Linked DNA regions of Homo sapiens: regions 1, 2 and 4 are each linked to region 3. The links are contacts of gene promoters, found by promoter capture Hi-C in human tissues and cell types (Jung and others, 2019). All regions are on one chromosome and are shown on one strand. The core of a region is centred on a gene start or on the middle of the fragment in contact, and the rest is flanking DNA. Distances in the headings are between cores, read along the strand shown. Region 1 has its middle 77 kb from the start of ARG1. Region 2 overlaps EPB41L2 (erythrocyte membrane protein band 4.1 like 2). Region 3 holds the start of AKAP7 (A-kinase anchoring protein 7). Region 4 has its middle 45 kb from the start of ARG1.

Region 1 (2,700 bases), core at 22-2,521, 360 kb before region 3:
ACATCTGCCACCCTGTCAACACATTATAGAAGCTCAATGAATCTTTGTTCTCTCACCCCTGAAACAAAAGATAGTACAAGAGAGGCTGAAGGAGAATAGTTCAGTGGGAATTAAAAAGACATTGAAGGAAGAATTGATGATGATTGTTTGGTTGTAAATGAAAACTAAGGGGTGGCAGAGACTCAAACACGGTTGAGACTCAGAGCAGGCAAAAACAGGGCCACTGAAGAAGTTAAGAGTCCCATGAGAAGACACAAGAATAGTGTGGATGAGAATGCTTTTGAACAATTTCCATCTAAGAGGCCTGTGGCGTATCCTGTCCTTGGGGCCAGGGAATTAAAGGTGGTGGTAATAATGAAATTAACAGTGTTGGACCTGACTGAGAGCACAATACATATAAATGCATCATTATCTGACTTGCATGAAATACCAAGAAAAATTGTATTTGCTCTGCATTAAAATTTTTGGTGAGACATATATTATTATCTCAGAATAACCTGAAATCAAGGAATTACTTCTCTATAATAATTTGAAGCTTGGGACAGAACCCTACATTTCTAATTCAGTCTCATTTTTTTCTCTTCAAATTATAAAAATGATGGCAGACTAGTTTGCTTTTCCAGTGTCATGGAATCATCTTTCTGCCCCTCAGGAATCTGTCTTTGTTCAAGAAGGGAAAGATTCCATTGCGTGATGTGGGAAGCACACAGTACTGGTTGGGAAAAAAGCATCACTGAATAATAAGATATTTCATAAATCTGAATTTAGAAACATAACCTTCTAAGTAATTTTTTCCCTAGAATTCACAAAGCTCTAAATTGCTTTAAAACAATTTGACAGCAGCAGGGTATATCTGCCTAAGTACCACTGAAATGTTCTCCTTTTATTGCTTTTTGTCCTTTATGCTTGACTTACTCTAACCATCTTTAAATTATTCATCATACTGCGGGGAATCATTTAAAAGGACTATCCTTGGATATCACTCCTAATAAGGTGAAAGAGATTCCCACCTCTCCCAAATTCATTTATGGACCCTTCCACACCTGACAGTCTTCTTCTCTACCATGTCCTGCCATCAGTTTGGATAACTATAATATCCATGCTGAAAATTTATTATTCAGGGGTCTCAGTTCCTGGGCCTTATTCGTAAATTGAGAGTACTCACATAGCCAAAGCTAGTGAGTTAGAAAGCAGATAAAAGAGTAGAATTATTAAATAAAATCAGACTTATTTCTTCCAAAAAAAAAAAAAATACAAAGAATGGCTAAGATTAATCAGGGAAAAAAGAAAAACCAAAAATGTCTAACTTAGTCAATGAGAAAGGCAGTAATGGGACAGATTTGGAAGATTGTAATAAAATATTTGTATAACTTTTTACCAACAAATGTGAAGATCTAGATGAAATTGCTGATTTTCTGGGAAATATAAATTTTAAAAAATTTCTCAAGAATAAGTAGAAAATCTGAATAGACCAATAACCAGTGGAAAACTTTAAGAAAATTATCAAAGATCTACTTTTAAAACACGTGCCCTACCCAGGTGATTTTATATGTAGGTCCCTTCTGATTTTCAAAGAACAAACAGCTCCTATGTTATTTAAATCATTGCTGAACATAAGAAGATAGAAACCTTTCCAATTCATTTTAGAATACTAACATATTTATACTAAATCTGATATAGATAGCACATAAGAATAAAACATAGATCAATTTCATCTATGAATATGGTGCTTTCTTAAACAATTTTGTCAGAATTTTCATGCCCAGTAATCCCAGGCTTCTTCCTCTTCCTTCCTAAATCCTGTATCTCTATGCTGGGAGGTGACGGAAAGTTAAAGGAGTGTAAAGTGAATTTAGAACGTTAAGAAATGCCAAAGCAGAAAGTAAAATGTGGTTGTAAATGAGTTCTAAGGTATTTACAAATGACTTGCAAATTATCACGGTCAAGCTTTAAAATATAAGGGGATTTCGTGATTTATTTGCTCACAAAATAAATACTGATGATCAGCAGTTTATCTACATTCTAGAGGGTGTAGCCTAGAGACCCAGATCTTTGGGGGAAAAAATCACTCTCCACTGTAGATTATTTATTGCACTCAGTGGACTAATTCTCAGTTTCAGGTGAGCACAACACAGTAGACAAGTTAGTGACTACTCCTTAGTCTTATCCACAATTATGCTAAAAAATGTGATCCAAGGGAAAGTGGATGGCCACATGAACACAGCTGGTTCAAAAGTAAAAGAGGAAAATTGTCAAATTCGGGTGGATAAACATGTGAAATCAGACATGCACACATACACACACACACACACGCGCACACACACACACACACGCACACATGCATACAACTCAAATTATGCCATGCTACGATTTCCTGAGCAGCTTTTAGAAGCCCACTGAATGAGTGCAACAATCTCTCCCATCCTAAATGCTCTTTTGCGATATAACTTTGTCATTTCTTCAATTAAAAGGTAGAGCCTGTTTCCCCTCTTCTTAAATCTAGGCTGACCCTGTGACCTATTTTTTTTTAAACTTTTTACTTGAAAATAATTTTAATTTATAGAAGAATTGCAAATACAATATGGTAGGTTCCCGTGTACCTTTCGCCAAGTTTCCCATAATGTTAACAGCTTCCAAAACCAGGATACATTGCTTTAATATATTTTGATCTATAGATTTTGATGCTGGTGTGTAACTTTT
Region 2 (2,700 bases), core at 114-2,613, 290 kb after region 3:
TTTTTTAAAGAAGTAAGAGTCCTCATGGGATATCATAGATATAGTTAATCAACAAAAGAGAACAGAAAAATGAACCTGATGTTTTTCTACTTAAACAAGAAAATTGGCAGATGAGAGTAATGGTAAACATGGGAATTAGTGCTTCTTCCTAAAGATATAATGCAATTCTGTTGTTTTTTTTCCCTGCCGTTTCCTCAAGCTCTTATTCTTCAGTCTTACGTTACAAATTAGTCCCTGATACTTTCACTTCTGGATTCATTAATCTATATTATGAGCCTGTTATGTTCAAGGGACTATTATAGTTGTGTGTGAGAGGGGAAGGCATAGGAACATGCATAAAAATAATGTTCAGGGCACAAAAATAGTATATTTGAAGAGAAGCCTAGATAAAGGGCTGTGGAAGTTGACAGGAGAAATGCTTCTGATTGGCCAAACAAGACAAAGCTCTCCAGAAAGGTTGCAGGAAAGCTCCTCTGTGCAAAGCACCAAGGGCAATCTGGATAGTTGGAGATTGGGGAGGGAAGAAAGAGCACATGGGAAAACAATGGGAAGGATGTCGGGAAAAGCAAACCTCCATCGTGGTTATGTATAGAGTTCTCAGCACAGCTGGAAACATTTGTTGAAGGCAAATTGCAGATGGTCTTACATGCCATGTCCTTTAGTAATATGAATTTATCAGTAGTGTGTATGATTGACTGAAAAGCTTCTAGATTAGATGAAGTACCCTGTAAAGAAATCAAGATACTGGTTCAGACAGTTAGTAATGGGGATACTGAACTGGACATCTCTAAGAGTAAGATTGAATTTAACTTGGAAGCAAAGCCAGGAGTAAAATATCATAGGAACATCTATAAAAGTTAAATCCGATATTTTTTTGCTTTTCAGTCAGATGAAGCTCAGTATCTTTATTACTATTTGAAGTAAAGTTATATTAGCATGTAGGCCTTTGAGAGTAATACAGTTCATTCAGAGGACACAGGGCTCAGGAAGGTCAACCCAGTCCCAAAAGGCCTGAAGATGGGACTTGGGCCTTAAAGGACCCACAGAAGAGCCTCCTAAGAAGGTGGGGTCTCCAAACAGCATGAACATGTTCCAGCAAACCAGGAAAAGCAAAAGCATTTTGCTGAATTATTTGTAGAACAGATACTGTGCTTCATTTGACTGCAGAGAAAAACACTGGATTTAATTTCTCCCTGTACTCAGCAGATACACAAATATCTGTGACAGAAGAAAACGGCAGTAGTTTAGTGATAGCAGATTGGACATAAGCAGTTCTCAAACTGAATGGTCTCAGGACCACTTTATACACCTAAAAATTATTGAAGGCCCAAAGAGATTTTGTTCATGTGAATTGTATCTATTGAAATTTATCATAAGTCAAAACTGAGAAGTTTTATAAATATTTATTAAGTTAAAAATCATCACATAGTGAAAGAAGTCTGTCTAGAAAGACTATATATGTTGTATGATCAAACTGTATGACATCCTGGAAAAGGTAAAATGATGGAGACAGTAAAAGGGTCATTCGCTGCCACTGATCTCCTCAAGAGTCTTAATATCGGGAAGCTATCAAGCTCATGGTGGCCAAAACACCATTTTCCAAATTCTAATGTTCACCTAAAAGCTTGCATTTTATCATTGGCAACAAGTACTGTCAATTGTTTCTCTTGAGGCGACAGGCTCAACTTCATTTTCAATAAAAGGTTTACCTAGTATCCAAATTGAATAACATCCCTTGTCTGTCAGTGATTCTCTCAAGTAAGAAAGGTGGTTGATGAAAAAGCAGCTGCTTCAACTCACAGTTCAGACATTCCCATAGATGCTTTTCCTCTAGACATTGTTGTACTTCTGTATGCAGCGGGAATGGCGTGTGCATACTTCCCATTTCATCACACAGAATATTAAAAAGATGCACTCAGGCTTGAGATGTAGGAAAATTAATATTTCTTCTGTGTCCTCAAGGACTTCCTTAAGTGAAACTGTCTTCTCTATTTTACTGCAAGTGCACACTGGTAAAGAATAAGGTGCCAGGCCAGGCCTGGTGGCTCACGCCTGTAATCCGAACACGTTGGGAGGTTGAGGTGAGAGGATTGCTTGAGGCCTGGAGTTCGAGACCAGACTGGGCAGTATAGCAAGAGCTTGTGTCCACAAAAAACTTTTTAAAAATTAGCTGGGTGTGATGGTATGTGCCTGTAGTCCTAGCTACTTGGGAGGCTGAGGCAGGAGGATCCCTTGAGTCCAGGAGTTCAAGGCTGCAGTGAGCTATGATTGCACCACTGCACCCCAGCCTGGGTGACAGAGCAAGACCCTGCCTCTAAAAAAAAAAGAATAAGGTTACCTCAAATATAGTTTGATTCCTCTGCTTCGACTTATGTAGGCTGAGCTGCCAGTAGATTTACTCACCATTATTTGTTTACACCATTGGTGAAAATGCCAACACACTGAAAAGGACATAATGTCTTAGTATGATAATGAAAACAGTTTTGACTCTATGGTCCCCTTAAAGAGACTCAGCAGTCCTCAGGGGCTGCAGGCTACACTTCGTGTATATTTTAATGGTAATACAGACATTTTAAGAATTGACTTTTTTCTGGGTTTAACCAAATGGAAATTTAGCATGCTTGCATTTTTGGCTCTGGGATTTTTATTTTATTTATTTATTTGTTTATTTGAGACAGTCTCGTTCTGGCAGCCAGGCTG
Region 3 (2,700 bases), core at 1-2,500:
GTTAATAGTGTCCGAAAATGGATGAAAGGAGGAAGTAACCTCCACAAACATCTTAAACTTTATGAGTAAGGAAAATATACAGATATGCTAACAGGATCCTGAATTGCAAAGCCACGGCACTTAAACAAGGAACTGGAGTATGGCTCTTTTCTCCTTAACAATTTCCATTCCCATGCATTTCCTAAATGCAAAAACTCACTGTCATCATTCACTTAACAATTGTCAACATATTCACACGATTAACTGCTATTTATATAGTACACTTTAACGTTTTTATGCTTTTTATACTCTTCTATGAGTTTATCCTATGAAACTCTTGCAGAGGAGCACCTTTTCTCTAATTGGTTTGCGGACCCTTTTACCGAAAGTCCACCCCTAACTCGCTCTATCACAAAGTTCAGTTCACAACAAACGCTGACCTAAACTGGAAATTCATTCCGGGCGCTAGTGTAGACTTGGCGCCAGTTTTAAAAGCGGTCATGTCCAAACCTGGCAGAAAATCCTAAATGAGACAGTATGGTGGTTCGGGTGCTTAATATTTGTGATATAAGATAAAATCGAAATTTTACTAGGTTTTGTTTACATTTACCCACATCAACACCGTCGGAAGGAATGTGTACTGGCATGAACTTTGTGCAAAGGGTCACAGGATGAGAAAGGGAGAAAGAAAAGTGAAACTCGGGGATGGGCTCATACCCCCGCCTCCTGTCGGACCCACAATGCGTGCATTAAAACGCTTCGCTACAGGCAGCACTGATGTACACCCCGGTTGCACCGGGCTTCTCGGTGCTACCCTGAGTCCTTTTGGGAAGGAGGGAGACTCGGAGAAGGGCCGGCGCGGGTCAGGCCCTCCCAAAGTTCGAGCGCAGAGCAGGCCCAGGCCCCCGCGGCTCCTGTCGCCCCCGCCCCGGCCCGCTGGACAGCCCGGTCTCACCCGCTTCGGGGCGCTCCATGGTCGCGGCGCATGCGGGCGGCGCGTCTGGGCTGGCGGCAGCGGCGGTGGCGGGCCGCGTCCCGGGGCTGGAGGCGAGGCCGAGGCGGAGGCCAGGGCGGGGCTCGGGGCCTGAGGGCGGTGCGCTGGGCCGGCGCGGGGTCCAGCGACAGGCTGCGGGGGCCCGGGCGGCGGAGGCCAGGCCTGCGGAAGCGCGGAGCTTCCCAAGCCGCAGCCCCCGCGGCAGCGGCAGCAGCGGCGGCGGCAGCCGCAGCAGCCGCAGCACCCGCATGCCAGGCCGGACGCCGGAACAAGCCAGAAGGGGCCGACCCGAGTCGCCGGTGGTACCCGGATTCGGGCGAGAGGCGCGGACGCGCTCGGGCAGGGCGGGGGAAACTAGGGCCGGCGACTGCGGCGTCACGGCAGCCCAGGTCGTCTCGACTCTGCAATGCGACGCTGGGTCTTCGCCTGCCTGCCGAGCCCCGCGGCCTCCGACGGCCTTTGGCAGCCCTCATTTATTTCCCGTGGCGCAGCCTTGCCCCTCCCACGCTTTCAAGGGCGAGATTGGGACTAGGATGAAAGAATTCTCTGGCCTGGTGTCTTTTGAGAATCCATGTGCTTAGTTTTGCAATCAGGGTTCTGATTGCAGAATATTTGGGAAGAGCGAAATGTACAAGAACGAGACCTTGTACTTCTGTATAATGAGATACTTTATTTACCTTACTTTTAAAAACTGCAAATTGTGACAAAGTCTCTAATTTTTAACAATGATGTTATGTTTAGACATTAAGAGGAAACCAGTTGCTGGTTCTTGTAGTATAAGGTACTGCAGTGAGTAAATTGGGAGAAAAAGAAATTTACTTAGTTTAAAAAAATAAAAACCTTTCACTTGAAACGGAATGCTATTGGGATTGGTTTTAGTGCGAAGAAACCAGGGGTTAAGAACATTAGGTGCATCCGTCCACAAATTAGCGCCTTTCGTGAATAATAACACTTCGCTTATGTTGAATGCATCGTAGAATAGGGATGGAAGAAAAGAAGACCCCTACACAGCCACAACAGCTGGCGTAAAGGCTGCACACTAGAAGTCGGCAAACTAGTTACTCTGATTTTCAAATAATTCTAACACGTTGAGTTTCTGATGCCCATTTATGGGCTGGTAGGAAAGTACAACCAGTTCCCCTAATATTTATTTAATGCTTGAGCTCTGTGCTGAGGATGTGCAGGTAAGACAGGTCTTTTACTTATGGAGCTGATCATATAATAGCAGAGAAAGAAACATAAGTAACTGCGGAAATAAAAGCTGCAAAAATGTGGTCCACATTCATAGTGAAGAGGATGAGAATATGCCACCCCAAATATGCCACTTCAGCATAAGGATTATTCTTGAGCTTAAAACAGTTCAGAAACTAAAGACTCAGGAACAACTTTGACCTCCCCCTTTCTGCCTAAAAGCAGGACATAAATTTCCCTTCGTAAAGGTGACATAAATTTTTATTTTTAAAGCTTTACCAGGCCGGGCCCAGTGGCTCACGCTTGTAACCCCAACACTTTGGGAGGTCAAGGCGAGTGGATCACTTGAGTCCAGGAGTTTGAAACCAGCCTGGGCAACATAGCAAAACCCTGTCTCTACCAAAAATACAAAAATTAACCAGACGTGGTGACCCATGCCTGTAATCCCAGCTACTCCAGAGGCTGAGGTGGGAGGATCGCTGGAGCCCAGGAGGTGGAGGTTGCAGTGAGCTGAGATGATGCCATTGCACTCCAGT
Region 4 (2,700 bases), core at 5-2,504, 390 kb before region 3:
GTCCTGAATTACTACTGCGTACATAACAAAATGAAGGCAGAAATAAAGATGTTCTTTGAAACCAATGAGAACAAAGACACAATGTACCAGAATTTCTGGGACACATTTAAAGCAGTGTGTAGAGGGAAATTTATAGCACTAAATGCCCACAAGAGAAAGCAGGAAAGATCTAAAATTGACACCCTAACATCACAATTAAAAGAACTAGAGAAGCAAGATCAAACACATTCAAAAGCTAGCAGAAGACAAGAAATAACTAAGATCAGAGCAGAACTGAAGGAGACAGACAAACAAAAAAAACTTCAAAAATCAATGAATCCAGGAGCTGGTTTTTTGTTAAAAGATCAACAAAATTGATAGACCACTATCAAGACTACTAAAGAAGAAAAGAGAGAAGAATCAAGTAGACACAATAAAAAAATGATAAAGGGGATATCACCACCATTCCCGCAGAAATACAAACTACCATCAGAGAATACTATAAACACCTCTATGCAAATAAACTAGAAAATCTAGAAGAAATGGATAAATTCCTCGACACATACACCCTCCCAAGACTAAACCAGGAAGAGTTGAATCTCCGAATAGACCAATAACAAGTTCTGAAATTGAGGCAATAATTAATAGCCTACCAACAAAAAAAATCCAGGACCAGATGGATTCACAGCCGAATTCTACCAGAGGTACAAAGAGGAGCTGCTACCATTTCTTCTGAAACTATTCCAATCAATAGAAAAAGAGGGAATCCTCCCTAACTCATTTTATGAGGCCAGTATCATCCTGATACCAAAGTCTGACAGAGACACAACAAAAAAAGAGAATTTTAGACCAATATCCCTGATGAACATCGATGCAAAAATCCTCAATAAAATACTGGCAAACCAAATCCAGCAGCATATCAAAAAATTTATCCACCACGATCAAACTTGCTTCATCCCTGGGATGCAAGGCTGGTTCAACATACACAAATCAATAAATGTATTCCATCAGATAAACAGAACCAATGACAAAAACCACATGATTATCTCGATAGATGCAGAAAAGGCCTTCGACAAAATTCAACAGCTCTTCATGCTAAAAACTCTCAATAAACTAGGTATTGATGGAACGTATCTCAAAATAATAAGAGTTATTTATGACAAATCCACAGCCAATGTCATACTGAATGGACAAAAACTGGAAGCATACCCTTTGAAAACTGGCACAAGATAAGGATGCCCTCTTTCACCACTCCTATTTAACATAGTGTTGGAAGTTCTGGCCAAGGCAATCAGGCAAGAGAAAGAAATAAAGCGCATTCAATTAGGAAAGAGGAAGTCAAATTGTCCCTGTTTGCAGATGACATGATTGTATATTTAGAAAACCCCATCGTCTCAGCCCAAAATCTCCTTCAGCTGATAAGCAGCTTCAGCAGTCTCAGGATACAAAATCAATCTGCAAAAACTCACAAGCATTCCTATATACCAATACCAGACAGAGAGCCAAATCATGAGTGAACTCCCATTCACAATTGCTTCAAAGAGAATAAAATACCTAGGAATCCAACTTACAAGGGAAGTGAAGAACCTCTTCAAGGAGAACTACAAACCACTGCTCAATGAAATAAAAGAGGACACAAACAAATGGAAGAATATTTCATGCTCATGGATAGGAAGAATCAATATTGTGAAAATGGCCATACTACCCAAGATAATTTATAGATTCAATGCCATCCCCATCAAGCTACCAATGACTTTCTTCACAGAATTGGAAAAAACTATTTAAAGTTCATATGGAACCAAAAAAGAGCCCACATTGCCAAGGCAATCCTAAGCCAAAAGAACAAAGCTGGAGGCATCATGCTACCTGACTTCAAGCTATACTACAAGGCTGCAGTAACCAAAACAGCATGATACTGGTACCAAAACAGAGATATAGACCAATGGAACAGAACAGAGGCCTCAGAAATAACACCACACATCTACAATCATCTGATCTTTGACAAACCTGACAAAAACAAGCAATGTGGAAAGGATTCCCTATTTAATAAATGGTGCTGGGAAAACTGGCTAGCCATATGTAGAAAGCTGAAACTAGATCCCTTCCTTACACCTTATACAAAAATTAACTCAAGATGGATTAAAGACTTAAATGTTAGACCTAAAACCATAAAAACTATAGAAGAAAACCTAGGCAATACCATTCAGGACATAGGCATGGGCAAGGACTTCATGACTAAAACACCAAAAGCATGGCAACAAAAGCCAAAATAGACAAATGGGATCTAATTAAACTAAAGAGCTTCGGCATGGCAAAAGAAACTACCATCAGAGTAAACAGGCAACCTACAGAATGAGAGAAAATTTTTGCAATCTACTCATCTGACAAAGGGCTAATATCCAGAATCTACAAAGAACTCAAACAAATTTACAAGAAAAAAACAAACAATCCCATCAAAAAGTGGGCAAAGGATATGAGCACACAATTCTCAAAAGAAATTTATGCAGCCAACAGACACATGAAAAAATGCTCATCATCATTGGTCATCAGAGAAATGCAAATCAAAACCACAATGAGATACCATCTCATACAAGTTAGAATGACAATCATTAAAAAGTCAGGAAACAACAGATGCTGGAGAGGATGTGGAGAAATAAGAATGCTTTTACACTGTTGGTGGGAGTGTAAACTAGTTCAACCATTGTGGAAGACAGTGTGGTG

What was found. The method cuts DNA at HindIII sites, captures the fragments that hold promoters and counts their contacts. A contact is called where the count stands out against the background at its distance.
Region 1: a fragment that was not itself captured here is called in contact with the fragment with the promoter of AKAP7 in region 3 in 4 of the 25 tissues and cell types used here (H1 embryonic stem cells, liver, lymphoblastoid cells and 1 more).
Region 2: a contact is called between a fragment that was not itself captured here and the fragment with the promoter of AKAP7 in region 3, in 3 of the 25 tissues and cell types used here (aorta, dorsolateral prefrontal cortex and mesendoderm cells).
Region 4: a contact is called between a fragment that was not itself captured here and the fragment with the promoter of AKAP7 in region 3, in 2 of the 25 tissues and cell types used here (H1 embryonic stem cells and mesendoderm cells).

Annotation. Positions count from the first base shown.
Region 1 is chr6:131,494,777-131,497,476 of GRCh38, reverse strand. No RefSeq gene overlaps it. Among named protein-coding and RNA genes, the nearest start is that of ARG1, 77 kb to the left of the region's middle. The HindIII fragment of the contact is 4,110 bases long and covers 1-2,700 here.
Region 2 is chr6:130,845,011-130,847,710 of GRCh38, reverse strand. All of the region lies in intron 19 of EPB41L2 (erythrocyte membrane protein band 4.1 like 2), which reads left to right. Among named protein-coding and RNA genes, the nearest start is that of SMLR1, 19 kb to the right of the region's middle. The HindIII fragment of the contact is 3,170 bases long and covers 1-2,700 here.
Region 3 is chr6:131,134,017-131,136,716 of GRCh38, reverse strand. It overlaps AKAP7 (A-kinase anchoring protein 7), which reads right to left and starts at 1,250. Exons shown (of 8, transcript NM_016377.4): 1 at 935-1,250. The coding sequence starts at 953. RefSeq lists enhancers at 623-682, 1,119-1,619 and silencers at 943-1,052, 1,203-1,292. The HindIII fragment of the contact is 8,304 bases long and covers 1-2,594 here.
Region 4 is chr6:131,526,743-131,529,442 of GRCh38, reverse strand. No RefSeq gene overlaps it. Among named protein-coding and RNA genes, the nearest start is that of ARG1, 45 kb to the left of the region's middle. The HindIII fragment of the contact is 4,189 bases long and covers 1-2,700 here.